Linked DNA regions of Homo sapiens: all the other regions are linked to region 2. Evidence: promoter capture Hi-C in human tissues and cell types (Jung and others, 2019). All regions are on one chromosome and are shown on one strand. The core of a region is centred on a gene start or on the middle of the fragment in contact, and the rest is flanking DNA. Distances in the headings are between cores, read along the strand shown.

Region 1 (4,203 bases), core at 58-2,557, 670 kb before region 2:
CAAACTGTCTCAGATCAGAAAGTGGTGTCAACTCAAAGGTGGCAGAAGAGTCAGGAGGTCTATGGACAAGCCACACATTCTTCTCTGTCACTCCTCATGAGAAAGTAGAGGTGAAAGGGCTTGGCTTGAACATTAATCCATTTGAATCTGTCTGCCACACAAGGAACAACTTGTCACTAGCATCAGGCAGCATCACTCCTTTCCAGCTTTATATTTGGTAGTTGCAGTCCTCAGCATGCTTTGAGGATGTCACTCCAAAATAAGTCAAGTAAAACCAGGTTCACTGAGTGATTTTGGAGGAAAAACATGGGAGAAACACATCTAAAATAGGCATTTCCAACTCATAGTGCTCTTAGGTGTGAACTTTTTCTAAGAGCTCCTGATACAAGCAAGACATTGGCAGATATAGCACTAGATTCACTGACGCTCATTTCAAAACAAAACAAAACAAACAACAGTAAGTTAATTTACTTGCTGGTTTATTGTTATTATTATATTTTTGTTGTCTTTGTGTTGCTGAGCTACAAATATAAAAAACGGTGGGTATGTGAACTAATGGATATTTCATGGATTAATAGGAACAAACATAGTTTTAAGAAATGCCCAGAAAATAAATAGAAGATTCATTCTGTCCTCAAATCTTGTGTTGACACAAGTAGACTTAAGGCTAATCACTGTTTAAGTTATTTGTTCTCATCTCGCTGCATTTATCTATAACCATAAAATTAAATGACCTGAACTGTACATTTGTTTTAGGAGTGCCTACCACGGCTATAGTGATCTTGGGACTATAATTCCTTCTTCAAGTAAAGAATAACATGAAGCTATTTAGGTGCTTTCTACTGCTCTGTGCCTCTGCTATAGCAGAAGAGATAAAAGTGGCTTAGCAGGCATTTTAAGGAATATCTTCAAATAATGTGTAACTACCTAAGTGGCGGCATGGTGCATTACACTTTTGGCTGGTGCTGATTTTCTAAAATGAGGTTCTGCATAAGGTAGGGAAGATAGGGTAATGCTATTTATTTAGTCCGACAAATAATTCAAAGCTCACATTTCAAAAAACTCTTTTTCTTCTTTTTACCTTTGCTTTTGCCATTGCTGCCTATCATCATGGCATACCCCTCAACACTGCTCAAATTCAAGTGGTAAATTTCTGTAGGGCAACATGTTGTTTTTGGAGTTATAAATGTTTGAGCTCTCCAATCTTGGAGCAGAAGCATGAAGTGAGCTTTTTTTATGAAGCTGAGGTTAAGAAAACAAAGGAAACATAATCTTGCCAATAACACAAGAACTAGACACTTTATATATCTGGGAAAGAAGAGAGAATAAAAGCACTTGCTTCTATGTTGAAATTTAGTTGGAAGGCAGGAGATAAATTTTCAGAAAACAATCCATAACTAAGCCGAAACAATGTATTCAGTGGTAAAAAAAAAAAAAAAAAAATAGGGAGGTGGGGAGAGACCTCTGTGTTTCAAAGACTGAAAAAAATTATGGAAAAAAATTAGCTGGGAAGGAGTTTTCTTTAGTTTATCTTCTATTTCAAAAGCTAAATTTCTAAAAATCAGGGGGAAAAGTGTAGCTTAATTACAACAAAAACCCAAGAGGGATAATTAGTCTCATGATATAGTTTTGCTCAGATAAACAAAACATGCTCTTTATAGAAATTTTGGGTAATAAAGAATAATTCTTATAATCAGATCTCTGTCCTCTGAGTTCAGAAGATCAAGTGTGAGAAGATACACACCTGGAGTGATGATGAGTTTGCTTCCCCTATCTCCTCAACAGTGTGAAAAGTTGATTAGAGGGGCCAGAAGGCACCCAAGAAGCTTCCATAATCCCACAGCAATCTTTAGGAGGGCTTTATAAATCTTATATAATGTCATGATGACAGAGTTTGCCAAGAATCCTATATGTTTTAGGCTTCTTTGGGGAGGAATCAACTTAAGGGGCATATTTTAAAACTACTCTTGGTGGAGTGTTTGGAGACCCAAGATCAGTGTGACCTAGGCTGTCCCCAGAGACCTGGGTGGACACCCATCATAAATAGACCAGGATGCAATAATGGGGTACATTTGCTGGCTTTTTCCTGTAGTACCTCCTTTTGTCTGAAGTTGTGCAACCAGCATTTGGAGCAGGATCCAACTGCCTCATATATAATCATTGTTTAATCAAAGTCCACCATGCTGAACCTCACAGGTTCTCCTGTTTCTCTGAGTAAAGACAGCCAATTACATATAACTGCTACATTTTCTGGCAGAATAAGGGTTTTACTCAAGCTTCCCAACTCCTCCTCCACTAAACCCACAGAAAAGGAAAGAGAAAAGGAAAAAAATCCATCCAACCATGATGCAAAGTAATAGGTACGTCTTTTAAAAGAAGTACCTTTTTAAAAGTAATAGGTACTTCTTTAATAAGGTGATAATAAACATAGTTTATTTTAAGCAATAAATGAACAGATAAAGTGGCTCCAGTCATGCCATACCATCCACTTTAAGTACATGCATTTTACTACGTAAACTACATGTCTGTGGTTTGTGTTGATTCTCCCTCTTATGTAAGGGGGGAACAGTCCTTCTCAGCGCCAAAGAGCCTTTCATACTTAAATTATTTCTGCTTAGTAATACAGTTATCTGCGTGTGCATCCATCTTTCTCAGTAGACTTTAAGTTTCTCAAGAACCTGCACCATGATCAGGTCATCTTTGCTTTCCTCTTCCTTATTCTCCCCGATGAACATCCCACACAAAGTGTTGCACACAGTCTGTGCTCAAAACATACCTGCTGAAATGCCTTATCTGCAACACTCTATGTTACAAAAATAATAATAAAAATAAATACAAGGTATGTGGAAGTCCTAACCTTCAGTAGCTCAGAATGTGACCTTATTTGGAGACAGCATCTATAAGACAGAGTCTCCCTATGTTGCCTAAGCTGGTCCCAAACTCCTGGGTTCCAGCAATCCTCCTGCCTTGGCCTCCTAAAGTGCTGGGATTACAGATGTGAGCCACTAAGCCTGCCCATTTTAATAATTCTATAAGATTTTAAATAATCTTATAATTGGTCAGTAAAATAGGCTACATATCAAAAGTTTTATTTTAATAAAGAACTAATAGCACGTTAATTCACCAACTTATTTTCATAGAAAGAAAGCCAGTTCTTTTCTAGGGGAATTTGATAGGGAGTTTGATACTCAGCTTCAATCCCACACCTCTTCTACTGTGCTTTCCTGTACTACAGAGGATGAACAGCAAAACCCTCCAGATCCTACATTTCTTTGGAGTTAGGATTCTGAATGCAAATCAGGGTTCCCCTGGCCTGCACAAGGAAGATGAATGGAGGACAGAAACTCTTGGCTGTTTTGGATGGGCAAGCCTGGCCCCAGAGTTATTGGGGTTTCCTGAAGCAATGTCCCTGAGAGTGTTAAAAGGCACATGTGGTGTTGGAGGTAGACGCCCCCTGATTTTCCACTGTCATGATCACAAAGAGGTGGCAGCAACCCTGGTGGCCCAGTTCCAGAGTATTTGTTCCGGGAGTCATTCCTGGCAGGCCAGAAAAGAGTCTCATCCTCCTGCCCTTTTTAAAAATCCTATATCCTGAGGACCTAATTGCCTATATTAAATCCCTTTAACTTAAAATACCTAAAGTGGTTTCTGTTTCCTGCACCTGAACCCTGAGTGACATAGTCCACCAGTTAGAGTTCCAAGTTCTCATTCTTGTACTAACCTCACTCATGATGCATTATTACAATTTCCATTATCTCTAAAATTGAACAAGAGAGTATATAATGTATGACAGGGCAGTGTGAGAATTCTCCTGGGCTTTTTTGTGTTTTTTTTTTGTTTGTTTTTGTTTTTGAGATGGAGTCTCACTCTGTCGCCCAGGCTGGAGTGCAGTGGTGCAATCTCGGCTCACCGCAACCTCCAACTCCCAGGTTCACGCCATTCTCCTGCCTCAGCCTCCCCAGTAGCTGGGACTACAGGCACCCGCCACCATGCTCAGCTAATTTTTTGTATTTTTAGTAGAGACGAGGTTTCACCATGTTAGCCAGGATGGTCTTGATCTCCTGACCTTGTGATCCGCCTGCCTCAGCCTCCCAAAGTGCTGGGATTACAGAAGTGAGCCACTGCGCCCGGCCTCTCCTGGGTTTTTATGGTTTCCCCCAGTCCTCTACAGGGGTCTCACCCAAACCTACTTTGACAGTATTT
Region 2 (4,261 bases), core at 912-3,411:
AAAAAAGCAACAAAAAATAATTGGCATTTAATAAATCCTTGCTGCCTTTATTTGTCAAGTGATGAAACCAAAGCCTAGGGCAACAAATATGAAGTCATATAACAATGGCAGCCCAGAGAAGGGAAACCTCCAAACTGCTAACTCCCAGGCCAGTACAATTTATTTTTGATACCTATAACCCAATTCACCAATTGATTTTTCTTTTCTGTTTAAGGCCTGCCTGAATGAAGACGAAACTGATTAAATATGGCTATAAACCCACAGGAATTTGACCAGGCAAAAATTTTCTTTTTTAAACAGAACCAACTCCTATCTGAAAATGGCTTCTAGAAATAATTATTTAATAAAATAATTTAATCCATGTCTTTGTTTCATAGTAACAGAAAAATATCCACCTCCCTTTCCTCCCAAAATTCAGCTGCTGCATATCAGTTTAATTGTACTACCTAGCAGTTCAAAGAAATTGGCTTTTCAATGGACATTAGAATCTAAAACTCCTAGATTTAATGGGTCTGTCCTCTGAGGCCCACAAAAGTGCAATCATAGAACAATAGGGTCAATACATTTCTTATCAAGGGTTCACCTACTTTGATATCACCCATTCTTGGAAGGGAACTCAGGTCAAACTGTTATCAAACAAATATATAAATAGATAAACTAAATGAAGCTAATGAAGAGACCACAATCAAATAGTCCTGGGAAAGACTATTAGCTGGCCTTCTTCAGAAATAAACATGCAGGGAAAAATTGAGAAAGGACAAAGGAGAAGGTCATGCACCTCTAAGAATAGAGCAAATAAAGATATTAGTTTAAGACAACGGTCCTCCAGGTAAATATAAAAGCTAAGTTCTTACCACCAACATGAACAAGTGAAATACACTTATTTGATGGAAAACTTACGGGCACAAAGCAATTGTTGACCAAATAGCAGAAACCAGTCTACAAAAATCATAATTAAAAATACAAGTATAATTCTGTTAATTAGGCATAGAAATTTATAATCTCCACGTCTTACAATTGTCCAGTGTTTATTCATGTACCTAAATTAAACTAAAATAATTTCAATCCAGGCAAACCACCCTGAAAGATTTTTTTCTTAAGATGTTTATATCTAAACCCATGCTCAGATCAGCAAAAACATTTAGAAAGGAAAATATTCTATTAAATTTTTTAAAAACATTTTATTGGGGGATCGTTAAATATAAATAATCCATTTTAAATAATATAAACACGTAGCAGAAGTACATAAAACATACTTTCATTTTCTAAAACATAGAGAACAGTAACTTCTTCGCCTCCAAAAGAACAGACCATTTAATACCATTTAAAAAAATCTTTTGGCATTCCTATTGCCCTTCCCATAACTAAATGAATCAGTGACACGTGTATATATATACATATATTGGAGATGGAGTTTCGTTCTTGTTGCCCAGGCTGGAGTGCAATGGTGCAATCTTGGCTCACTGCAACCTCTGCCTCCCGGGTTCAAGTGATTCTCCTGCCTCAGCCTCCCAAACAGCTGGGATTACGGGCGCCCAGCTAATTTTTTCTACATGTTGGTCAGGCTGGTCTCGAACTCCTGACCTCAGGTGATCCTCCCACCTCGGCCTCCCAAAGTGCCGGAATTAGAGGCGTGAGCCACCACACCCAGCCCTGATGTATATATTTGAATCTGCTGTTTATTCATATGTTGAATAAACATTCACAGTTGGGATTACTGGCATACATCTTCCACAATTATAACATTATTTTAGCTAGTGAATAATAAAACTAATTTGATTTTGGTTAACTTCTTTTCAATACAGATGGTTTAAAAATAAGACAAAGCCTGTCTTTTTCTATTGTGATCTTAAAAATATCTTTCTAACATGCTTTTTAAAAAAAATACATAAGTATGCTACCACTGCCTTGTAGTAAACTTTAGAAAATGTTGAGATTCCAAAGGGCTGCCTACAAACCAAATGGCATCCTAGCTTTGGCAGGCTGATGCTTCATTTTGGCTGCTCTCGCCCCCTCTAGCGTTTGCAAAGCTCATCTGTCTGATTATCCAGTTACCTCACTGAACAAGATCTTGGCTAAGTCCTGCCCATCTATGACATCACCCCCTTCTTCAGCCACTGCGAGGTGAAGCTTTAAACTTCAGACTTGGAGGTGGGCTGTGTGCAGTAAACTGGAATGCTCTCCCTCGCTCACTCCTCAGTGTAGGAGTGATCTGAAGCAGGACAAGCTCAGCCTGCAGCTGCCGTGGGCTTTGTGTGGACTGGACGCAGAGCTTGGGAGACGGGGGAGGGCTATTACTCCAATTCACTGTCAATGGAATTACAGCTATAGCGGCAGTGTATATAGGATTGCTTTTTCTCGTCTTCCTGGTAAGTGTTTTCCATGTTTTTTCTTATGATTGTCCCAGAAAGTTTGCTTGGTTTTACTCTCTAGAAAGAAACGACTTGATACTATGAGAAATCCAAATAGGAACGTTTGCTCTGTCACCACAACAAGCAATATATGTGCGTGCAAGCCAGCAATGAAAAATTTCACTATCATGGCTGAATGTAAGAAGTTTCTTAGAACCTTCTTTCATTTATAAAAGATAGTAAGTGGCTATTTTCTGTCTTGAGTAATTGCTATGTGAAAAGAGCCTTATGGAAAACAGCAAGTTGGAAAGTTCAATGTTAAATATTAAAGAATACAAGGAGATTCTTCACAGATAGGAAAGCAACTTGGTGTGTACTGTACGTGTGGGATGATCACCAATTGCTGTTTTTACAACTGTGAAAGAAAATCAATAATCCCTCAGCCCATGAGTACGCAGTACATGAAAAGCATACATCTTGCTCACAGCTAGCCGAGCTACTCCTGGAGACTTATGTGCCTCTGTAAAGGATTAACAGCTACACCTAGATTTTAAAGCTTGCACTGCTATCGTGCCTGAGCTGCTTCAAGCATTTCAGGCTTGCAAATCTCAACTAGTAAATTGAACTCAGAGGAGGGGGAGACACTCTTCCAAACCATATTCCCTCTTCAATAGAACACCAAAATCCATTGCTTAGGCAAGTGAAGTATGTGACTAGCATAGTAAATGGCTAAGTCTACTCAGAAAAACTAACAAAGCTCACCCTGGAAGCTATGCCTGATGTATGCAGTGAGTTTGGGGTAGCAGGAAAGAAAAATAAATGAGTAGAGCCCTTATCAAGTGGGTTTTGCAGAGGATCCATTCTTTGCAACTTATAATAGGAAAATCTTATATTGGAAGAAATGCATTTATACTACAAAGCTTGAAAAAGTAGTTAAATGTATCTTCTCAAAAAATTTTGTTCACTGAATTAGGTCTGAAACAAAATGGTTGCATATAGGTAAAGAGTGCAACAGGCCCATCCATGTCTTCTCAACATCTGGGGGGTTTGTTTTTATTATTTTATTTAGAATTTAAAAGAAAAAAAATTGATTTTTTTTTCAATTTTTAGTCCAAAATCTCTAATGGTTTTAATAATAAGGCTATTTTAAACATTCTTAATAAATCTGTCTATTAATAAATCTGTCTAAAATGCTCATCTATGTTATTTTATTATCCAGAAACAACATAAATAAAGCCACTAGAAAAGTCCTTCAGCTGTAGCAATGCCTTTCATTTATCTCTGACTGCATAAAAATATCCTGACCAGCCTAAACATAAAGAATAAATTTGCTTATATTCAGGGAGAATCACTTATACCTGACCCAAAGTGACAGATGACTAATATTCATCTCTTCCGAAATGAGTAAAGAAAAATTAATCCTTTAAAAGTGCCACAATCAATAATATCAACATTACCAACTACTACAAATATTAATGATAATATGCCAGGTTTTACCATGGGAAAATTAAATCAGAGATATGCCCCTTAGTTTGGACACATATATATACACACAGACAAACGCACATCTATTTATTACCCTGAAATAAAAACAGAGTTACAAAAACGCATAGATTTACTAAGAAAACTAAAATTTGATTTTTTGAAGAGCACAACCAAAACACATCAAGTCCAAGGATCAGCAAAATATTAGTGAATGAATAAACATAATGAATTCATTAATATTGCGGTTCTGTAAAACTGTCTACCAGTTACTAATTGGGTTTTTCATTTCGCTGCACCCCACCCTTTAAAATCAATTATGACTGGGTTCAAAATGCACAATTAAACACTTCCCAAACATAACGTTTGTGAGATATATAATTGGATAGCAAATAAAGTTTTTACAAAAAGAAGAAAAACAGTAAGAA
Region 3 (4,376 bases), core at 815-3,314, 840 kb before region 2:
TGCAGCTGGTAGTCCTGAGGTCTGTTCAAGTCTGGCTGAGTCTGGGGTTTTTATGGGCTCATAAGGGAGGAAGTGCATGCTGATTAGTCCATAGGTGGCCATGGGCAGGGCCAGAAAAAGCACCATAAGTTCTCACTCTGGGCTGCAGACTTCATCAGGAACTGGCAGCCCAGCCCACAGGCTTCAGGCTTGAAGGTGGGATTTCACCAGGGACCTGCCCCTTTTTGTCCAGGAGCCTGTCTGCCTTCTGCTGCCATCAACATGCCATCCACAACGCCCAGGCTGTTCCTGCCAAGGGGTACCTGCAGGCCCACACTAAGCTGCCCTCAGCCCCTCCTTTGCTTCCCTCCCATGCTCCTGGGTTCCCAAAGTCTAGAGGGGGCCAAGGCAGCAGGGGGCTGGCGTGTCAGCACCTCTGAGAATACACATACCTGGCCACATTGCAACAGCACCCAGCCTCAGCCACAACTTTGCTCTGCAGCAGAGAGGGTACTGGGAGCAGGGAGAGGCCAGGGGGCAGAAGCAGGCACTTCTAAGCCTGTTGGGGCAGGAGGGCTTCCCAGGCCTCCGAGAGTGCAGAGATTCCCAGGTCTGGAGCCACAGTCGGGCAGCTGCTGTTGCACCCAGGAACACTGGGCTCCTGCCCCATCAACTTGGTAGGGGCTGGGGCTCCCGCCTGTTCCTGGCCCCCACTGGCTCTATGGAGCACACAGCCATGGTTGCACCTAGCCATTGCAGCCAGTGTCTTTGCAGTGGCTCCTCCAGATGGGCCGCCACTGCCATCAGTATAAAAAACTAAACATGAAAACTCCTATCATAAATTATTGTAATGTCTCTTTGCTTGAATTCTCTCTCTGAAATTTCTATTTCATCCCCCAAATGGCAGGCACAAAGTCATCTTATATTTCATGAATTTTCCAATAGCTAAGTCAATATGACTAAGTCTACCATTAGCATTCAGCAACTAAACATTTTAAGTAGTGTAATTATACAAGAAACCTGGGTGGTAAAATGACTATTCATGGTTTCTATATTCATTGTAAAAGTTTGCCATGCATATCTTTTTTTAAATTTTATTTTTATTATTATTATACTTTAAGTTTTAGGGTGCATGTGCACAATGTGCAGGTTAGTTACATATGTATACATGTGCCATGCTGGTGTGCTGCACCCATTAACTCATCATTTAGCATTAGGTATATCTCCTAAAGCTATCCCTCCCCCCTCCCCCCACCCCACAACAGTCCCCAGAGTGTGATGTTCCCCTTCTTGTATCCATGTGTTCTCATTGTTCAATTCCCACCTATGAGTGACAATATGCGGTGTTTGGTTTTTTGTTCTTGCGATAGTTTACTGAGAATGATGATTTCCAATTTCATCCGTGTTCCTACAAAGGACATGAACTCATCATTTTTTATGGCTGCATAGTATTCCATGGTGTATATGTGCCACATTTTCTTAATCCAGCAATGGCAACAAAAGCCAAAATTGACAAATGGGATCTAATTAAACTAAAGAGCTTCTGCACAGCAAAAGAAACTACCATCAGAGTAAACAGGCAACCTACAAAATGGGAGAAAATTTTCACAACCTACTCATCTGACAAAGGGCTAATATCCAGAATCTACAATGAACTCAAACAAATTTACAAGAAAAAAACAAACAACCCCATCAAAAAGTGGGCAAAGCACATGAACAGACACTTCTCAAAAGAAGACATTTATGCAGCCAAAAAAACACATGAAAAAATGCTCACCATCACTGGCTATCAGAGAAATGCAAATCAAAACCACAGTGAGATACCATCTCACACCAGTTAGAATGGTGATCATTAAAAAGTCAGGACACAACAGGTGCTGGAGAGGATGTGGAGAAATAGGAACACTTTTACACTGTTGGTGGGACTGTAAACTAGTTCAACCATTGTGGAAGTCAGTGTGGCGATTCCTCAGGGATCTAGAACTAGAAATACCATTTGACCCAGCCATCCCATTACTGGGCATATACCCAAAGGACTATAAATCATGCTGCTATAAAGACACATGCACACATATGTTTATTGCGGCACTATTCACAATAGCAAAGACTTGGAACCAACCCAAATGTCCAACAATGATAGACTGGATTAAGAAAATGTGGCCATGCAAATCTTTTATGCTCATATATTTTACTTAAAAAATATGTGCTGGATTATTATCTTAATCAATTTAAAATTCTTCTCCTAAATAATAAAGGCCACAAGTAACATTTTGTTACAAATAGAAGAAAGCAGAACAGATATGAAGAAACCATACATTTAAAGATTTTATATTAAGACGAGACATTGCACTTGAGTGTAAAAATAATAAAAATTTGTCATTTATATAATAATCTACATAGTCTAAAATTACCATTTAAATGCACAATAAGCATTAGGAAAATCATGATTTAAAAGTCTTGGGTGTATATGTTTGGGCTTTAGCAATGAAGTAAGTTTTCAGTGATAAATTATGCTGCACTCAGACTTATAAAAGAAACTTCTATTATTGATTAGTAGCTTAGAGAATACAGACACTTTTTTAACCAATGAACAAAACATTTTATCTCGAAGTCTATGCTTCAGGAGACATGTAGGTAAGAAAGATAAAGTCAACAATGCAACATTTCATTGTATACCATTAACTTATACTTTGAGTTCATGAGGGGTAAAAATGTAGTAATACTCAGATTACAGTAGGACTCCTTATGAGTGCTTCAATTAAAAATATGCAACCGTGATATCACCATGCTAAAAATTGGTTCTGCATGACTGAATCTGAGGCCCACTGAAATGACTGTATTTATACCCAATTATCAAGCTATAACCTTTGACTTCCCTTTAAAACTGTCTGCCAAAAAAAAATTGAATTAAAACACAGCTTGAAATTCAGCCAGCTTCCAGAATTCACCTTAATGGAATGGATTCTCTGTGCTACATGGGACAAGAGTGATGTGATGAAGGTTTTTGCATTGACATTTAGGGATCACAGCCTCTTTCTCTACAATAAGACATTCCTTCGATTTGCCAAAGTGAGTAAGGAAATTGCCTACCCCCAATTAGGAGAAGATAAAAAAAATCCTATCACTTTGATCTGATAATGAATATGCTCCATTGGGCTGAAATAGAGAATCTTTTTGGACAGCTTCTCTTTAACTACATAGGTCTGTTTAGCAAACATACAGTGAGTGAGTTCTCACTTTCTCATCCAAGCAAATATCAAAGGAAGCATTTTCAGGAAATCATAATCCAAACCTGCAACTATTTAGAAACAATGTGCAAAATTAATTATATATTAGATAAAGTTGAATAGTAATGGATAATTTCTTTGAGTCTAGGGTTAAATTAATTTTCATAGATTTATTATTTAAAATTTGCAAAATATTTGAGTCCCTGAAAAAGATAAAAAAAGTTTAACACACAGACCCACACAAACACACACGCACACAGGCACACACACAGTTTATATATGTTCACGTTATATTTTTTAATTAATATTCTTTTAAGTTTCTGTTCATTTTGAATGGTTTTTATGTCACTTGAAATATGGGGGCAAACTTATTCATAACATGCATGAAAGCTTTCAAGCATTTTCTCTTACAGATTAGTAAAATAGTAAATTTTCAGCAAGCCACATACACAGTAATGCTTCCCCAATTAATTGTATTTTCATTTTAGTATGGCTCTACTGGCAGGTTGCTAATAAATTGCTGATAATTATTAATCTGCACTTGACTAGTCAATGTTCAGATCTTTTTCAAGAGAGGCACTCCATAAAGATTTACAAGTTTTGCCAAGTGAGGGGCTCACGCCTCTAATGTAAGAACTTTGGAAGGCCAAGTCTAGAGGATGGCTTGAGCCTAGGACTTCAAGACCAGCCAGGGAAATATAGTGAGATCCCATCTCTACAAAATTAAAACAAAACAAAAGAAAAAAAAACAAAACAGTAGCCAAATATTGTGGCAGGCGCCAATAGTCCCAGCCACTCAGGAGGCTGAGGCAGGAGGATAGCTCGAGCCCAGGAGTTCAAGGCTGCAATGAGCTATGACTGCACAACTGGATGTTGAGACCCTCTCTCTAAAATAAAAAAGGAAAGAGAAGGAAAGAAATATTTACCAATTTTATAAAGGCAAGTGGAATTTCTCTTGGTAGATCTCAATATTCCTTCCCCAACTTGTTTTGTCCGGTCTCCAGATTTTTGGCCTTCTTTAACTGACTCCCACCAACCTCCATTTTTTTTTCCACTGGAGTCCCTGAGGCTACAAGATTTGCAGATTTTTCCTTTTTGCCTCTTCCTCCACTGTTGTACACATTTTGGGATCCCTGGTAACTATGACAGAATCTTAGAAGCTTCTCACTG
Region 4 (3,768 bases), core at 365-2,864, 990 kb before region 2:
TTACTGCATCTGGCTTAGACAATTAAATATTAACAACCTTGTCTAGTTTTTCATATTAAGAAGATGTCACGATTTTCTCTTTTCATAAGGCATCAAAGCTGAAGTATTTTTGCCTCCGTTTTCAAAGAAAAAAATAACGACAGCAGTGCACGTAGAGGCTTTTATGCAAGCCACAAGTAAGAGATAGCCAGGGGCAGAAGACACGTGGGCCCATCTGAGAAATTACTTCAGGGCAGTAAGAAGCTTGCTGAGAACAGAATTTTACTCTTGGATTCTAAACTTGAGATGCCTTCTGAGCTTATAAAACCTAGCGATTCCACAATATTATAGAGAATGACTTAACAGCCCAGTTTGAATTTTGTCACTTTAATCCATTAGTCAGAAGTGCAAAGGAAGTCTTCCATTCTACCTGTGATATTGACTACCCCACCCCAAACAGGTGGCAGTTTCCTGAATTAGCTTTGGCACATTTTTTTTTCTTGCTGTGATCATCTAACATCAGTTTGGGTTACTAGAAATAGAACTTGAAATAGGAAGCAGTCCTACATTTTTTGTTGCTCTGGAAATGGTCTGCTTATAATCTTCCATCAGCCCTCCTCTACATGCCCAACCACTAATCTACACCTTGATTGGGGCTCAGTTCTCCTTCTGATAGGGAGAGGCCCTTCTGCATTTTCCATCCGTTTTCATGGACGGATGCTCTGAAGGCAGGGCTGCCTGCTGAGCCTGGAGTCTACCAAAGTCTGTCACTTCTGAATACTCAACACCAAGCAGTGCTTGCCAAATTTAGAGCCCTGCCTGACAATCACATGGAGGGCTTGTTAAAACACGTTGTAGGGGAGGAAAAGATGTCTTTTCCTGGCCCATTGCTCGGTTCATGGTGGAGGCTCCATACAAAGAAGATATTAAATAAATGCAGATTTATTTAATATAAGTTTTACATGACATAGGAGACTTCATGAGAAAATGAAGACCCAAAGAAACAGATTAGCTTGTGTACTTTTATGCTTAGGTTTGAAGAGTGGACAGTCCCGGAGAAGTATGACTGGACAAAGGAGGTGATAAACTCGGGGAAACTTAGCAAGGCCTGTTTGCTCAGATTCTTCTATGTCCCGGTGTCTTCAGAGATAAGGATGTTTCTTCTGGGTATAGCGAAGGCACCTCTCAAATAAGGGTCTTATGATTTTACAAGGGAGAGGAAAAAGTAAGAGTGACCCTCCTCTGTGTCTGCTGTTTTCTCAAATGCCAAAGGTGCAGCATTTTGGGGTAGCACGCCTGAGCCCCACCAATAGATTGCCATCAGCGTTTCTGTTTCAGTAGGTCGGGGATAGAATCCTAAAATTATCTGCATTACTAACAAGTTTAAGCCCCCTTTGAGAACCACTAGCATAGAAGCTAGACTCTCAAGGAGAAAGATGTGTATTTAAACACACATCTGAAAAATTTGTGAATTCACTTCAAGATTTTGTTTTAAAATATTGTATTTTCATTTTTTGATATTACTTTTATTTTTATGTACTTTATTTTTTCTGTGTGAAGAATGGGGTCTTGCTATGTTGCCCAGGCTGGTCCTGAGCTCCTGGGTTCAAACAGTCCTCTCACCTCTGCCTTCCTAAGTGCTGGGATTACAGACATGAGCCACTGCACCTGACTGGTATTGTTTTTAAAGGATATGATCATTTCTTTAAAGCTGAACTACCTGGGAAAGTATAACCTACCCAAGTGCCAGATGAGCAATGTATTCATGTAGACTGAGATCTCCAGATTCCAAACGTCACCCTAAATCACCTACAGATACACCACTCTCACCCTGAACAAGTCCAAAGGGCCTCTATCATACACTCTGAACTTGACCTTGGGATTGTCTCTAAGCTTTTTCATTATGGTATCTTCTGGAGAAAACTTCATAAAATAATTTGAAAATGGTGGATGGAAGAAGGGTAAATACAGAGGAACATAAAGAAGAATATTTTACACAATCGAATAGACTCTGCTAACATCTGCTGCATTTCCTTTTAGATTTTTTCTGTATGTTTTGTTTCCTACTTTTATTTGCATTATTTCATAAGAATTTTCCAATAATTAACATTGTTTTCAATGGTGTATAGTGTTTTACCTTATAAATACACCATAGTATTTTAACCATTTCTTCATCGCTGTATATTTAGATCATTTCTAATTTATCACTATTTTATATATACATATATACGCACACTATTATATACTATTATACTTTGGTAAATATCTTTTGGCATTCTTTTCTGAATTTTAGATAATTTTCTTTAAGGAAATTTCTAAGAGTGTAATTGTTATGTCAAAGAAAAAGAACATCTTTAAGGGTTTCGATACATTCAGTAAAACTGCCATAAAATAATAAGTGGCATCTAAGGAATTCAATTGCATATAATGTGGTGTGTTAATGTAAGATTAAGAAAATGATCAGGGCAAGTCCACTGATATGGCCAGCAGGGAGACCCCAGGTTTAGCTGTGCAATGCAATTAATTTCTGTCCAGGTTGTGGTTTGACACCAGGTCATGTTTGGTGACTCTGATTTAAATATTTATGGGGACAATTCTAGGTCTGTGTCTTAATGAGAACTCCAGACAAGTAGCAATGATGTCAAAAATCTCTCTATGTCTATTCTCATTTAACTGCCAGAAGGATTCATTTGAAAACATAAATCAGAGTGTTTTTCTCCTCTGCTGAAAATGCTAAAACTGCTTTGTTTCACTCAGAGTAAAAGTCAAGGTCATTGCATGGACTTACATGATCAGATGTGGTATTGCACCTCGGCACTCATCCCCTCCTCTCTCCCTCTGGCCACAGTGTCCAGCCAGACTGGCCTCCTTCCTGAGTCTTTGTTATTACTGTTCTGACTTCCTGGAATGCTCTTGCCACAGGTATCTGCTTGTCAAATTCCCTAACTGCTCTCAAAAATTTATCTAACTATTACCTTCCTAATGAGGCCTGTCCTAACCAACCACCCCATTAAATACTGTGCAGTGACATCCCCACCTTGGACCTTGGCCCCAATTATTTGACCCTTCTGATCCTTCTCATCTTCATTTTATAAAAATATATATTCTACTTATCAATTTTAACATACTATATAATTTAGTTATTTGTTAAGTTTACTGCTTATTTTCTGTAAACTCCACAAGGATAGTGATAATTCTGTTTCATTAACTGATATGTGTCAAGTACCTAGACCAGTCCCTGATACATAGTAGAAGCAAAAATCTATTTTAATGAACTTTAGCTATCTCAGGTTGAGAGTAAGGGCTGGATAGAATATATAACCCAATCATCCATCACATGATAGTGATGGGGTTCAGGACACACTACCCCAAAATATGGCATGCTGGTGTATGAGAAAACAGCAGAAGTAGGGGGCAGTGATATAGTTTGGCTATGTCCCCACCCAAATTTCATCTTGAATTGTAGTTCCCATAACCCCCATGTGTTGTGGGAGGTAATTTAATCATGGGGGCAGTTACCCCCATGCTGTTCTCATGATAGTGAGTGAGTTCTCGTGAGATCTGAGGGTTTTATAAGGGGCTTTTCCCCCTTTTGCTTGGCACTTCTCCTTGCTGCCACCATATGAAGAAGGACGTGTTTGCTTCCCCTTCTGCCATGATTTTAAGTTTCCTGAGGATTCCAGTCATGCCAAACTGTAAATCAGTTAAATCTCTTTCCTTTAGAAATTATCCAGTGGCAGATATGTCTTTATTAGCAGCATGAGAATGGACAAATAAGGGGATCACTCT
Region 5 (3,819 bases), core at 1,200-3,699, 710 kb before region 2:
GTGCTGCCAAATCCTTTACTCACCTCCCTGTGTTGCTGAGTGAACTGAAGGGGAGAAAAACACAGACAAGGTCAGAACACTCTCACAGAGGTGGCAAAGGTGTCCCATTTTACTGGATGTTTGGGATTCCCAAGCTGACATTCTAACCTCAGACATTATTTAGAAGAGCATTAAAAATTTAGCTGCGTGAAGCTGTGTTTTCTGATTAGGGTCTTCTGCAGGGTGACGGCCATGATGAACTTGTTACTGACAATTCTTCCTCAGACAATTCATCCCCATTTCTTTTCTTTTCTTTTCTTTTTCTAGATCATCTTTAGTACTGTTAGGTTCTCTTAGAAACTGGTGCACTCAGGATTCCTTGTGTGTTAAAAGGTTGTGATGTAGGAGTTAAAAAGCTTCAATTCAGCCTCTTGTGTTTTGAACCACATATGACTGTTTTGTAGAAAACTCTTACATTGACATAAGGTTCAGATGCTGCATTTTAACATTGAATGTATTTTTAGACAAAACTTAAAATCTGTATAAATATTATTAAATATTTCTATGGATAAACAACTGCACATAACGTTTTATCTGTGAGAGTCCCAAGAGGAAATAAATGGCACTTTCAAACAGAGTAATTTGAGTGTTTAATAGAGACTATTTACAAAGATGTGGGAAGGCTGTAGCAACCCCCAGAGCTAGTGACATTCCCTGAAGTTAGCAAGCAGGCACTGTTAACATTTTCAAGCCAAAAGGCTTGAAAAGAAAGTGTAGTTCCCAGCACATGTAGACAATCACAAAAAGCAAACACCTCACCTTTACTCTCCTCTTTACCTTAGACTGCCTGGGAGAGCTGCCCATTGACCAAACCCAAAAAGAAGCCAGAAGGCAGAGAAGTCCATTGAGACAGTCCATACAGATCAGCTCTCCAGGCAGAGAGAATGGGAAAGATGGGAAGAGTGGGTCTGGAGGGCAAATGGGAGACACTCCGCACAGATGTACTCATTGACTCAGAGAAGGAGTGTGTTAAGGGAGAAAACAGGAATAATCTTGATTGTGCCATTTTGAATTTCAAAACTGATAGTGTGATATAACAAATATATATTCAGTCCCCAGTTCCTGGCACAGAGCTCCCTAAAACTCTTGTAAGCTCCTGAGTGATAGGAGTAAGAAGAACCTCTTTGGTTATTCATAATAAGGCTCTTTAACCACACCTGAGATTATGCTAATAGGATTACTCTTGATGGGCCCCTAAATAGCTTCAGGATGAGGTCTGGTTGCCAGAGGATCCGACCATGTGATGAGAGGGTTGGCACCTTTCAGCCCCACCTTCCAACCTCCATGGAGGGGAGATAGGCTGTAGATTGAATTCAATCACCAAAGGCCAATGACTTAATCAATCATGCCTATTTAATGACACCTCCATAAAAACCCTACACAATGGAGTGCAGAGAGTTTCAGGGGTGCTGAGCACATGCAGGTACAAGGAGTGTGGCGCTCCCAGAGAAGGTTTGGAAGCTTCATGCCTCTTTCTGCCCCATGCATCTCTTCTGTCTGGCCATTCTTGAATTGTGTCCTTTGTAATAAATTGGTCATATTAAGTAAAGTGTCTTCCTGAGTTCTGTGATCCATTCTAATAAAATATCAAACCCGAGGAGAGTGTCGTGGGAACCTCTGATCAGCTGGTTGGTCAGAAATACGGGAAGCCTGGATGTGTGACTGGCATCTGAAGTGGAGGCCATAATCAGGGGTACAGACAAAGTGTTAGAGAGAAGCACAGTGAATGAAAAGAGCTCCTCTCCACCATGCCCAGACTGCAAAAGCTTCTTTTTGACTGGGGGAAAGAGAAAAGGGAAGAGGCGATAAGTAAAGGAAGATCTGAAGGCCCAGGAGTACAGGGGCCCAAGACAATCTTTCAAAAGAAGCCACTCAGAGAGGGACAAACTCCAGAGAGAGAATGTGGGTGTGCAGCGTGGAGGCATCATGCAAAAAACTCAAGTGGGTGAAGGAAGCTAGGTGGAATCCAATGGACACTGGAGGGGCCTGTGTGGGCCTGGAGAGCCAATGCCCCATGCAAAGGCACAGCAATGCCCTATGCAAAGGCACAGCCCCAGCCAGCTGGCTGCTCCTATGCAAGAATGCAGGCACTGAGTTACAGTATTTCCCATTTTTCAAGAGAAATCTGAAAACTACATTATTCAAATAAAATTTCCAGATTCTTAAAACTTTGTGGGCTAAATAAAATGCGTCTGTGGAACAAATTCAGTCCACTGCCTGGTCATAGAAACATGGAGTCCTAGTGGCTTACTATGCCCTAAGCAAGCCACCAAAGCAGCAGGAGGTTTGCTAGACCTGAGAGGCCACATAGATAGGAATGAAGGACACAGCAAAGCAGACTTAGGTTCAAGGAACAGCTGGGTCCCTTTCACCCAGGCCTAGTTCCACACAAACTTCCAGGAATGTTGATACAACCCCAGGAAGGGAAAGAAACACCTAAACCATTGAGCTTAAAGTTCCGTGCCATGTCAGCAGAATCAGGACTCAAAAAGGAAACAGTGTTGTAGAAAAATAAAGTAGTCACTACTCATCTATATTCCCTCATTCCTTTCAGTAAGATTTGGCTCTAAATTTGCAAGATACAATCTAGGCTTCTTGCCTACCAGTTCCATGATCCCATTAAAGGGATGTAAGTAGAGTTCATCATTAAGATTTCCTGCTTCTGTTCTATGCAAACTATGGCACGCTGAGCTTCTGCTGATGGAATTTCAGGTGCTAAGACAGGGACCTTCAAGTTCATCCACAATCCTGAGGCAGAAATCTGTGGGTAAAAGATACCTATCCTGAGATGATTCTGGCTCTGTCCCGGCAGTGGCCATAATTCACTGTGGGCCCTAGAATGAGATGTTTCTTCCATGTTTCTTCCCTGCTTGGCCCCAATACTCTTGTCATAAACTATAAGGGGCGAGAGTCAGGCCTCAGCCAAACACACGTCCCATTCTGCTGTAGGATGCTATACTCCTACAGGTGGCCAGGTGAGGGCATACTGGAAATGATTGAGCATTACACAGATGAGAACATGTACCATTATTTTTATATTACTGTTTCTTCCACACAGATTCCACCTCCCTTTTGCACAATAAGATTAGACATTTTCCTGCCTTGTTTGGCTACTTTAGAAACTCTTAGGATTTATACCTTTTTTTTCCTGCATTTTCCCCTTTTCCAGTCATCAGCAAATTCTCTGGAAGGTCTGTTATGAAAATAACCTACAGAATTTCACTTTCTATTTGTCATAGGATAATTTATATCCCTAGGAAAGAGAGCTTGTTTTTTATTTTTTCTTTCACTAGTAAAGTCTGAGATAAGGAATCATGTGTTTATTTCTTATGACTTGGGGCTCCAAACTTCTTTGAAATCCTCTCGCTAATCTTCTTGTCCCTGAATGGCTTCAAGTTCTCCAGCTTCCTCCAATCCTGCTTGGCATGTATGACATGCCTCATCACCATATGTTTTTCCATCTTTTGATGACTTATTTCAGCCTATGGGCCTAAAAATCTCTATGTTAAATTCAAACATTCTGCATTATTGAACAATATAATGAAGCATTTCGATATTAAAACTCCAAGAAACAATGATGGAGAAATTAAGTACTCAATGGCAAGAAGGGTACAGTAACAAATCTGAAAAATATAAATTAAAAAATTCAGTTTGGGTGTGGTGGCTCACACCTGTAATCCCAGCACTTTGGGAGGCCGAGGCAGGAGGATCACTTGAGCCCAGGAGCTTGAGACCAGCCTGGGCAACACAGGGAGATCCCATCACTACAAAAAATGTTTA
Region 6 (3,827 bases), core at 287-2,786, 970 kb before region 2:
TAGGTAATATTCATGGGTATGAGATGTAGGTGGGGGCTATAGCAAGGATGAGAGACTGTGCCAACCCAAGGAAGGCTACAGTTGCTCATCTCCATTGTTAGAAATAAAGCTCAGAGTTGTAAGCAAACGAGCACTCAGACAAAGGATTTTTCAGCAAAGCAAATTTACTTCTGTGGAGAGGGGTGCCTCCCGTATGGCCAGTTGCCATGAGGGCACACAGACCAAAGGAGAGTGGAAGTTTTTATTCCTGATGCAAATCCTGCCCCTGTGTCCTTTCCCCATTGGCTGGGATCAGACCTCACAATCTAAGCTAGACCCGATTGGCTAAATATTTAAACTTTTTTTTTTAGATAAGGCAGGCACGTAAGGGAGAGAGGGGAGAGCGGGAAGGGGTCGTCTGCAGTGAGCTAGAGAGCCAGTCCTTTTCCAAATAAGGAAAGGAATATGAGCTGGTGCTGATAACGCCACTGGTGCTGTGGCATGCCTGGGCATGTAGTAAAGGCAGAAAGAAGGAAAGAAGAAGAAAGAGATGGGGAGGGGTACTGGGAATTAAAGAACAAAAGGTTGATCAGGCTGTTTGAAGAGAAACCTTGTCATACCTCACATCCATCCATATACCGTCCAGGAATGCCAATCCAGTCTTGCTGATGTTCCTTATTTCAAGAGAAGCCAGATGCTTATATAAAACATCCTGATTGGTAAATGTTGACCAACTTATAAAACATGTGTTCACTTACTACTGTATGGGAAGCAAATAAAAGACAACTATGGGATGGACCAGTCCCATGGCCACCATTGCTACCAGTCCCATGGTCCCATTGCTACCTCTGAGAATCTAAGACAACTCGCTCCTTTCTTTCACCAGATTCAATTTTCCCTAATCTCCAACCCCAGTCATGCATTTATTCCAAAATTAAAATAAATAAATAAAGGAGCACTTAAAAGTTACTAGATAAGAAATAGATTGGGAAACACAGAAAAGAAAGAAAATATTATAAGGAACAAAAAGTAAATTCTGGCCTTCAAGAAGCTTGTGGTGAGGAAAGGCCAAGAAGAATTGTGAAAATGACCTACTATAATAATAAATATTACAGAATAATTAAATTGGGGGATACTATAGGAAACTGCTAGAATACTTGATTCATTCTAGGTGAGTAAACGTGGAAGATCTTAACAGAGTGAGAGGCTCTGAAAATAAATAAAATTCCAACAGATGGAGAAGGAAGAGGAATTGTAGGCTGTTAGGCCAGAAGAGCAAAAAACACTTGTGAGTGATCAGAACTGGCGTGTTGGTAGAAACTAAAGAGACTGGGGGCATGAAAAAAATACGGTGCATAAAGGAATTGGGGCAGTGTTCTCCAAGGCCAGTGAGAATGTTACTCTGTAATAGAAGAAACTGATAAATGGTTCTGAGTGAGTGACATGATTCTGTTATTGTTTTAGAAGATTTTCCCTGGAATGTAACAAATAGATTGAAAAAGTGAGACGCTGGCAGAGGAAAAACTGGTTAGTTAGCTATTTTGATTGTTGTTGATGGAGTGAACTAGAGTAAAAACAATGAAAGAGAGGATGGCTATAAGAGCCATTGTAAAGGGGATTTATGGAGCTTTTCTACTGACATGAACGTCTAGGGCAAGGCGGCATGATGACTTTATGATCTCAAGCCCATAGGTCTTGGAGAAAAGGGTGCCTTTAGGAATACAGGAGCACAGATGGGAATGTTGTGTTCCTGTGAGGCAGAGTTTGCTGCTGGGGCAGGGAGTAGATGGTAAGATAAATCTGTGGGGTCCAGCAAGGTATTGAAACCGTCAATTCTGCTGTTAAAAGACAAGTCAAGATTAGAGGTTCAAATTGGTCTTTTAACAGAATAGAGACTGTAAAATTGAAATGTTCAGAAAGAAAGAATGCAAGATGTCAAAGAGAAAAATTAGTTTGCAGAATTTTGGAAAATGCTTATAGATACATGTTTAAAGGTATGAAGATGAAGATTAACTAAATAAGGAAAAAGGAATTTAAAAGAATTAACAGCAGCTACTATTTACCAAGCATGTCACTTGTGCCAGGCTTTGGGCAAAGCCTTCACATAAATATTTTATTTAATCTTCATAATAACTTTGTAAAGGGACTGAAGCTTAGGGAGGTTAAGTAACTTGAATAAGGATATAAGTAGCAGGTTCACAGAACACAACATCCAAATATGGCTAATAAACGTTTGTAAAGATGCTCAATTTCTATAGTAGTTGAGGAAATGCACCAGGTTTGTAAAAAATTAAACAGGACTATAATGCTTTGAGGAAGAGCTACTCATACACTGCCGGTGGAATGTGAAATGGTACAGTTTTTTTAGAAGGCCATCTGGCAACATCTATTAAAATTAAATATACCCACTAAATGTAAATTAAATATACATGTGTCCTTTGATCCAGCCATCCCCCAACTGGGGATTTATCCCATAAGATGAAATCACCAACCCAGAGTAGAAAATGTCTGAAGCAAATGGAATATCCATCAACAGAGGAATGGTTGAATAATTTGTGATACATCCATAATATTTAAGAATGAGTGAGTTCTACACCAACTCTTTTGGAAGGAGTTCCACAATGAACTGTTAAGTGAGTAAGGCAAACAGCAGACAAGAGTATAAAATATGATCCCGTTTCTATAGAGCAAAATAAAAGATACACATCTGTATGTGTGTATGTGTGTGTGTGTGTGTGTGTATTTTATCTGCCCAGGGTCACATTACTAGCAGTAGTTAGGATTTATGTTCAGATCTGTCTGATTCCTAAGCTCATGCATTTGATCACCAGAAGAGAAAGAAATGAAATATAGTCAACGATGTCAAAGGAATGACCTTCAGAAAGACATTAAATGGAGCGGGAGCTAAGAAACGGCTTTGGATTTGGCAATGAGGACGCCACATGTTCCCTTTGGGAGACAGGTTTCAATTGAGCCCTTTGGGAGGGGCCAGATGCTGGGAGCCAAAGAGCAAGGCTGTGGTGAGGAAGTAGTGCCAGTGAGCACCGACCACGTTTCAGAGATCTGCCAACAAGCAGATTGTCAGTTTGGCTGGAGAAAGAGGAGCTAGTATTGAGTTTTCTTGTGTTTGTTACATTTGTGTGTTTTATACTGGTGGGTTGTTTGGGATTTTCTGTTCTCCTGTCTTGTTGAGTTTAAGACATCCTTTGCACATCTGAAAGTTAGAGGAAAAATGAGACGCGAGAGAATGACTAAGTTCCAGAACTGATGGAAGGGGAAAGCTAAATAACTGCCTATTGCCCTTTCTCTCCTGGCGCCTCTCTAGGTAGTATCTCTGAAAGACAAATCACTTCTTTAAGAGATATAATTTTAGGCAGGTGCATTGGCTCATGCCTGTGATCCCAACACTTTCAGAGGCTGAGGCAGGAGGATTGCTTGAGGCCAGATGTTCAAGAACAGCCTGGGCACTTCAATACTCTTGTCTCTACAAAAAAAAAAAAAAAAAAAAAAAGGCCACCTACCATCTTACTAACTTCCACCCATTGATAAGTAAGATTCTTAAATACCTTCAGTGACCTGTCTGAAATTCAAGAAACCAAAGGAAATCTCAACTCTCAACTCTCTGAGTAAAAGAAGACACTAGGAAGCTAACATCATTTGGGAACAAGGCAAGTTGGTGACCATGAGCCCAGCTGCTCTTTGAGCTGCTTTCTCTGATTCTCTGAACCCATCAACCAGGCCCCGTGCTGGCTCACTCTTCTGTCTCATTCCTCCTCTGAGGCCTTCTGACCAGTCCTCCTGGGCAGGCCTGCCAGGTAACTGCTCTCTGGTCCCAATCAACAAAAAGG
Region 7 (4,205 bases), core at 338-2,837, 760 kb before region 2:
TTGAAATACCACCACTTTAGTGGTTAGGGCTTCAATATATGAATGCTGAGGACACACGAATATTCATTCCATAGCAGTATATACCTTTGTTAACTAATATAACATTTTTTCCTCCAGTCAACAATGTTTGGGGCTTCTAAGCACTAAACTGAAATTTTCAATGTGTCCATGGATGTCCATGTTCCAGTTCAGACATGTATTACATGAACTTTGTGATTAAAAATCTGGTTAAAGTACAGGCAGGATATTCTGTGGTGGCCTCTCAGCCAAAACCATTAACTAATTCATAGGCTTACTGCTGGCAAACTTGTAAGTCTCTAAAATGAATCTCTGGCTAGTACCTACTCTGAATGTAACTAGTAGTGCAATTTTCTACGGAGAAAATTATCCTGAAGATGGCAGCTTTTCACTTCTGAGCTTTGGCTCATGCTGTTCCCTCTCTAGAACACTCTCTGATTTCCCCCCAAAGGGGAAACATCTACCTGCAGTTAGACCTTAGATCTCTATTTAGATATCACCACCTTAGGTGCTCCTCCTTCATGTTCCTGTGAGCCCTGTTCTACCACCATCATAACTTCTTTTATTTGACCATTGGCTTGGTTGTCTATCCTTCTAAAGTATAATCTTAGGATAGCAAGGACTAAATCTTATTCACCACTCTATTCACGGCACTAAGCATGATGCCTCGCATAGTGTTAGAGCTGGAGGAGTGAATAACTATGCAAGAAGGTGAGTCATGGCATAAATGTCCAACAAAGGCATTACGTGTGCCTGAAGTCAAGCATGGAGGACACTTCAGGCCTTTCAGAGAACTTAGCATCCCAGAGGGTCTGTCCTCCATATCAGAATGAAAATGTAGGCAGAGTAAGGGATACAGAAATAAAGGAACACTGTTATGAGGAGAGCAGCTACAGAGCCGCCACCCAAATTCAGGTGAGAAAGGTTGGAATCATCACAGAGCCCTATCCTTTCATGGCTTCCCTCAGGACTCACTGCATAATCTGTGAGACCTGCTATGAAATGAAAATGTGAGACCCTTTGTTCAAAAATTAATAATTTCAGAATGGTAGGAGCAGAGCATCAAATCAAGCATTTAATATTGGTCCCTTCTAAGCATGGGGCTCTGTGTGACTGCATGCATCTCGTGCCATGAAACCAGATCCAGGCCCCTCTAAACCTAGGTGCCAGGGGCATACTGGTTCTGCTGTAGAACAGTGTTTAAGTTTATTTGGCAGCTCTCTCTCAAGTGTGTTGAGGCCTTGAAATTCAAAATTTTAGAAAACAAATAACATTTGTGATAAGTAACATAAAGATTGTTATGAACTTGCCAAACACCAGCATCCAAAAGGTAACACTCAGGCTTTCATAAATTTCATAATTCATATTCTCCTGCAAAGACTTCTGGATACTGAAATACCCATTCCCAAGATTACCTTTTATTGATCTTCATTAGAAACCAGCTACGTGTTTGTCGATAGAAATGAAGCATAAACAGTTTTGGCCTTGCCCTAACTTTCCATGGCAGCTGACCATTCCACTGAAAATACTATCACTAAAGCATCTACTTGATCTTTCAACAAAGCATGGCCTTGCATATTTTTGTTGTACTTGTTCATTTTTTTCTCCCTGTTTTCCACAAAGGTACCAAGATCAACTCAATCCTATTTCTCCATTGAATTGTATTGTTCACTTATGACATTTTATTTGGACATTACTCTTACGGTACTTTACATTAATCTGCCCTAATAACTACTGAGGTATATTGAAAAATAATTGATTTTTCACATCTGAAAGACATCTGTTATGCTATATTAGTGGCAATAAAATAGAAGAAACACTCACAAAAGCAAAATTGAACTATACACCAAGATAAATGTTATATTTTGGCAATATTCTCACAAAATAGCTGACAGATGTTAGTAAAAGCATTACATTTTGTGCAAAGATACTCATCATTTCCTATTACTATACATACTCCATGACATACAGAAACAAATAGTACAATGCAAAATACCACACTTTGGGCAATGCCAAGGCCAAATTTTGCATATTGTTTTTCCATAATGATGCAAGTTTGGTCTACAGTCTCCAAGTCAAATATTGAGGTAATTTTTGGCATACAATTGAGTCTCGCAAAAGCAAATTAATACTTTTAAAAATTAGCACCGGGCACAGTGGTTCATGCCTGTAATCCAAGCACTTTGGGAGGCCGAGGCGGGCAGATCACCTGAGGTCAGGAGTTCGAGACGAGCCTGGCCAATGTGGTGAAACCCTGTCTTTACTAAAAATGCAAAAATTAACTGGGCGTGGTGGCGAGCACCTGTAATTCCCTCTACTTGGGAGGCTGAGGTAAGATAATTGCTTGAACCCAGGAGATGGAGGTTTCAGTGAGCCAAGATCACGCCACTGCACTCTAGCCTGGGCAACAGAGTGAGACTCCAACTCAAAAAAAAAAAAAAAAAAAAATTAGCATAGTGGCTCACGCCTATAATCCCAGCACTTTGGGAGGCCGAGGCAGGCGGATTACTTGACGTCAGGAGCTCCAGACCAGCCTGGTCAACATGGTGAAAGCTTGTTTCTACTAAAAATATAAAAATTAGCTGGGCACAGTGGTGCACATCTATAGTCTCAGCTACTCAGAAGGCTGAGACAGGAGAATTGCTTGAACCTGGCAGGCGGAGGCTGCACTGAGCCAAGATCACGCCACTGTACTCCAGCCTGGGCGACAGAGTGAGCAAGACTCTGTCTCAAAAAAAGGAACAAACAAAAAACATATATTATATATATTTATATATATAAATACGTATTTATATATATTTATATATATATTAGCATGGGATTTATGGCTAATATTTTAAAATAATTACAGACTCCCAAGAGAAAAAACATACATGAACAATAAATTCTTACTAGCCACTTACGAACTGCTTGCACCAAAGCCCATTCGGAAAAAGGGATGCAGCCACGTTCTGTGCTTCTTAATGTCTCCAGAATCCTAGAGTACCCTGCAGGGGACTGATGATTGCACCTTGAGTAGGAGTTGAGAGCTGGAAATCAAATCAAACTCTTTGGCCCCGTGGAGAAAGGGATCTACTAGCTGCTGCTACTGGCAAGCTCCATTATTCGTGGCCTAGTGTCTTTTCATTTCTCAGAACTTTAATTGTATCTACCTTCACGGTTCTACTACTGCACACCTGCATAAAGTCCAAATTGTCCACCTGGGGGGAAAAACACTCTTTTGTTAGCTAATCACAGACTCATTGATACATCAGCTGAGGATTTTAGTGATATTAGAAATTCTTTTAGTGAATCCCTTCTATATTCTCACAATTCTGATTGTTTTCTAAATCTATTTTAATCTCTCTTTTGCTTTCTCTTGCAGACACACACACACACACACACACACACACACAAACAACATGGTGTTATTCAAACATAAAGAACTGAAGAACCTTTCTGGCTGGGCACGGTGGCTCACGCCTGTAATCCCAGCACTTCGGGAGGCCAAGGTGGGTGGATCACGAGGTCAGGAGATCGAGACCATCCCGGCTAACACGGCAAAACCCCATCTCTACTAAAAATACAAAAAATTAGCCAGGCGTGGTGGCAGATGCCTGTAGTCCCAGCTACTCGGGAGGCTGAGGCAGGAGAATGGCGTGAACCCGGGAGGCGGAGCTTGCAGTGAGCCGAGATTGTGCCACTGCACTCCAGCCTGGGCTACAGAGCAAGACCCTGTCTCAAAAAACAAAACAAAACAAAACAAAAAACACAAAACAAAACAAAAAACTATAAATCTTCTACAAAGAGGTCAGAAATCCCTGTTAAAAACATGATAAGCAAGTGTTAAACAGCAAAGGTTGGTTCAAGAAACATTAAACTGGCTCATTAGAGACCACAGCAGGCCGGGCGTGGTGGCTCACACCTGTAATCCCAGCACTTTGGGAGGCCGAAGTGGGTGGATCACGAGGTCTGGAGGTTGAGACCATCCTAGCTAACACGGTGAAACCCCATCTCTACTAAAAATACAAAAAATTGCCGGGTGTGGTGGCGGGCGCCTGTAATCCCAGCTACTGGGGAGGCTGAGGCAGGAGAATGGCGTGAACCTGGGAGGCGGAGCTTGCAGTGAGCCGAGATCACATCACTGCACTCCAGCCTGGACGACAGAGCGAGACTCTGTCTAAAAAAAAAAAAAAAAAAAAAAAAAA

The links. Contacts are between HindIII fragments. The study calls those that stand out against the background at their distance.
Region 1: a fragment that was not itself captured here is called in contact with the fragment with the promoter of FLRT3 in region 2 in 1 of the 25 tissues and cell types used here (bladder).
Region 3: a fragment that was not itself captured here is called in contact with the fragment with the promoter of FLRT3 in region 2 in 1 of the 25 tissues and cell types used here (dorsolateral prefrontal cortex).
Region 4: a contact is called between a fragment that was not itself captured here and the fragment with the promoter of FLRT3 in region 2, in 1 of the 25 tissues and cell types used here (dorsolateral prefrontal cortex).
Region 5: a fragment that was not itself captured here is called in contact with the fragment with the promoter of FLRT3 in region 2 in 3 of the 25 tissues and cell types used here (lymphoblastoid cells, mesenchymal stem cells and mesendoderm cells).
Region 6: a contact is called between a fragment that was not itself captured here and the fragment with the promoter of FLRT3 in region 2, in 1 of the 25 tissues and cell types used here (lymphoblastoid cells).
Region 7: a contact is called between a fragment that was not itself captured here and the fragment with the promoter of FLRT3 in region 2, in 2 of the 25 tissues and cell types used here (dorsolateral prefrontal cortex and mesenchymal stem cells).

What each region holds. Positions count from the first base shown.
Region 1 is chr20:15,007,013-15,011,215 of GRCh38, reverse strand. All of the region lies in intron 5 of MACROD2 (mono-ADP ribosylhydrolase 2), which reads right to left. Among named protein-coding and RNA genes, the nearest start is that of MACROD2-AS1, 80 kb to the right of the region's middle. The HindIII fragment of the contact is 4,174 bases long and covers 1-3,394 here.
Region 2 is chr20:14,335,512-14,339,772 of GRCh38, reverse strand. It overlaps FLRT3 (fibronectin leucine rich transmembrane protein 3), which reads left to right and starts at 2,161. Exons shown (of 3, transcript NM_198391.3): 1 at 2,161-2,369. All of the region lies in intron 3 of MACROD2 (mono-ADP ribosylhydrolase 2), which reads right to left. The HindIII fragment of the contact is 3,050 bases long and covers 40-3,089 here.
Region 3 is chr20:15,172,140-15,176,515 of GRCh38, reverse strand. All of the region lies in intron 5 of MACROD2 (mono-ADP ribosylhydrolase 2), which reads right to left. Among named protein-coding and RNA genes, the nearest start is that of MACROD2-AS1, 240 kb to the right of the region's middle. The HindIII fragment of the contact is 6,985 bases long and covers 1-4,376 here.
Region 4 is chr20:15,327,341-15,331,108 of GRCh38, reverse strand. All of the region lies in intron 6 of MACROD2 (mono-ADP ribosylhydrolase 2), which reads right to left. Among named protein-coding and RNA genes, the nearest start is that of MACROD2-AS1, 400 kb to the right of the region's middle. The HindIII fragment of the contact is 4,395 bases long and covers 1-3,768 here.
Region 5 is chr20:15,041,613-15,045,431 of GRCh38, reverse strand. All of the region lies in intron 5 of MACROD2 (mono-ADP ribosylhydrolase 2), which reads right to left. Among named protein-coding and RNA genes, the nearest start is that of MACROD2-AS1, 110 kb to the right of the region's middle. The HindIII fragment of the contact is 3,002 bases long and covers 949-3,819 here.
Region 6 is chr20:15,301,255-15,305,081 of GRCh38, reverse strand. The region is part of intron 6 of MACROD2 (mono-ADP ribosylhydrolase 2); the gene reads right to left. Among named protein-coding and RNA genes, the nearest start is that of MACROD2-AS1, 370 kb to the right of the region's middle. The HindIII fragment of the contact is 4,210 bases long and covers 1-3,641 here.
Region 7 is chr20:15,095,070-15,099,274 of GRCh38, reverse strand. All of the region lies in intron 5 of MACROD2 (mono-ADP ribosylhydrolase 2), which reads right to left. Among named protein-coding and RNA genes, the nearest start is that of MACROD2-AS1, 170 kb to the right of the region's middle. The HindIII fragment of the contact is 7,566 bases long and covers 1-4,205 here.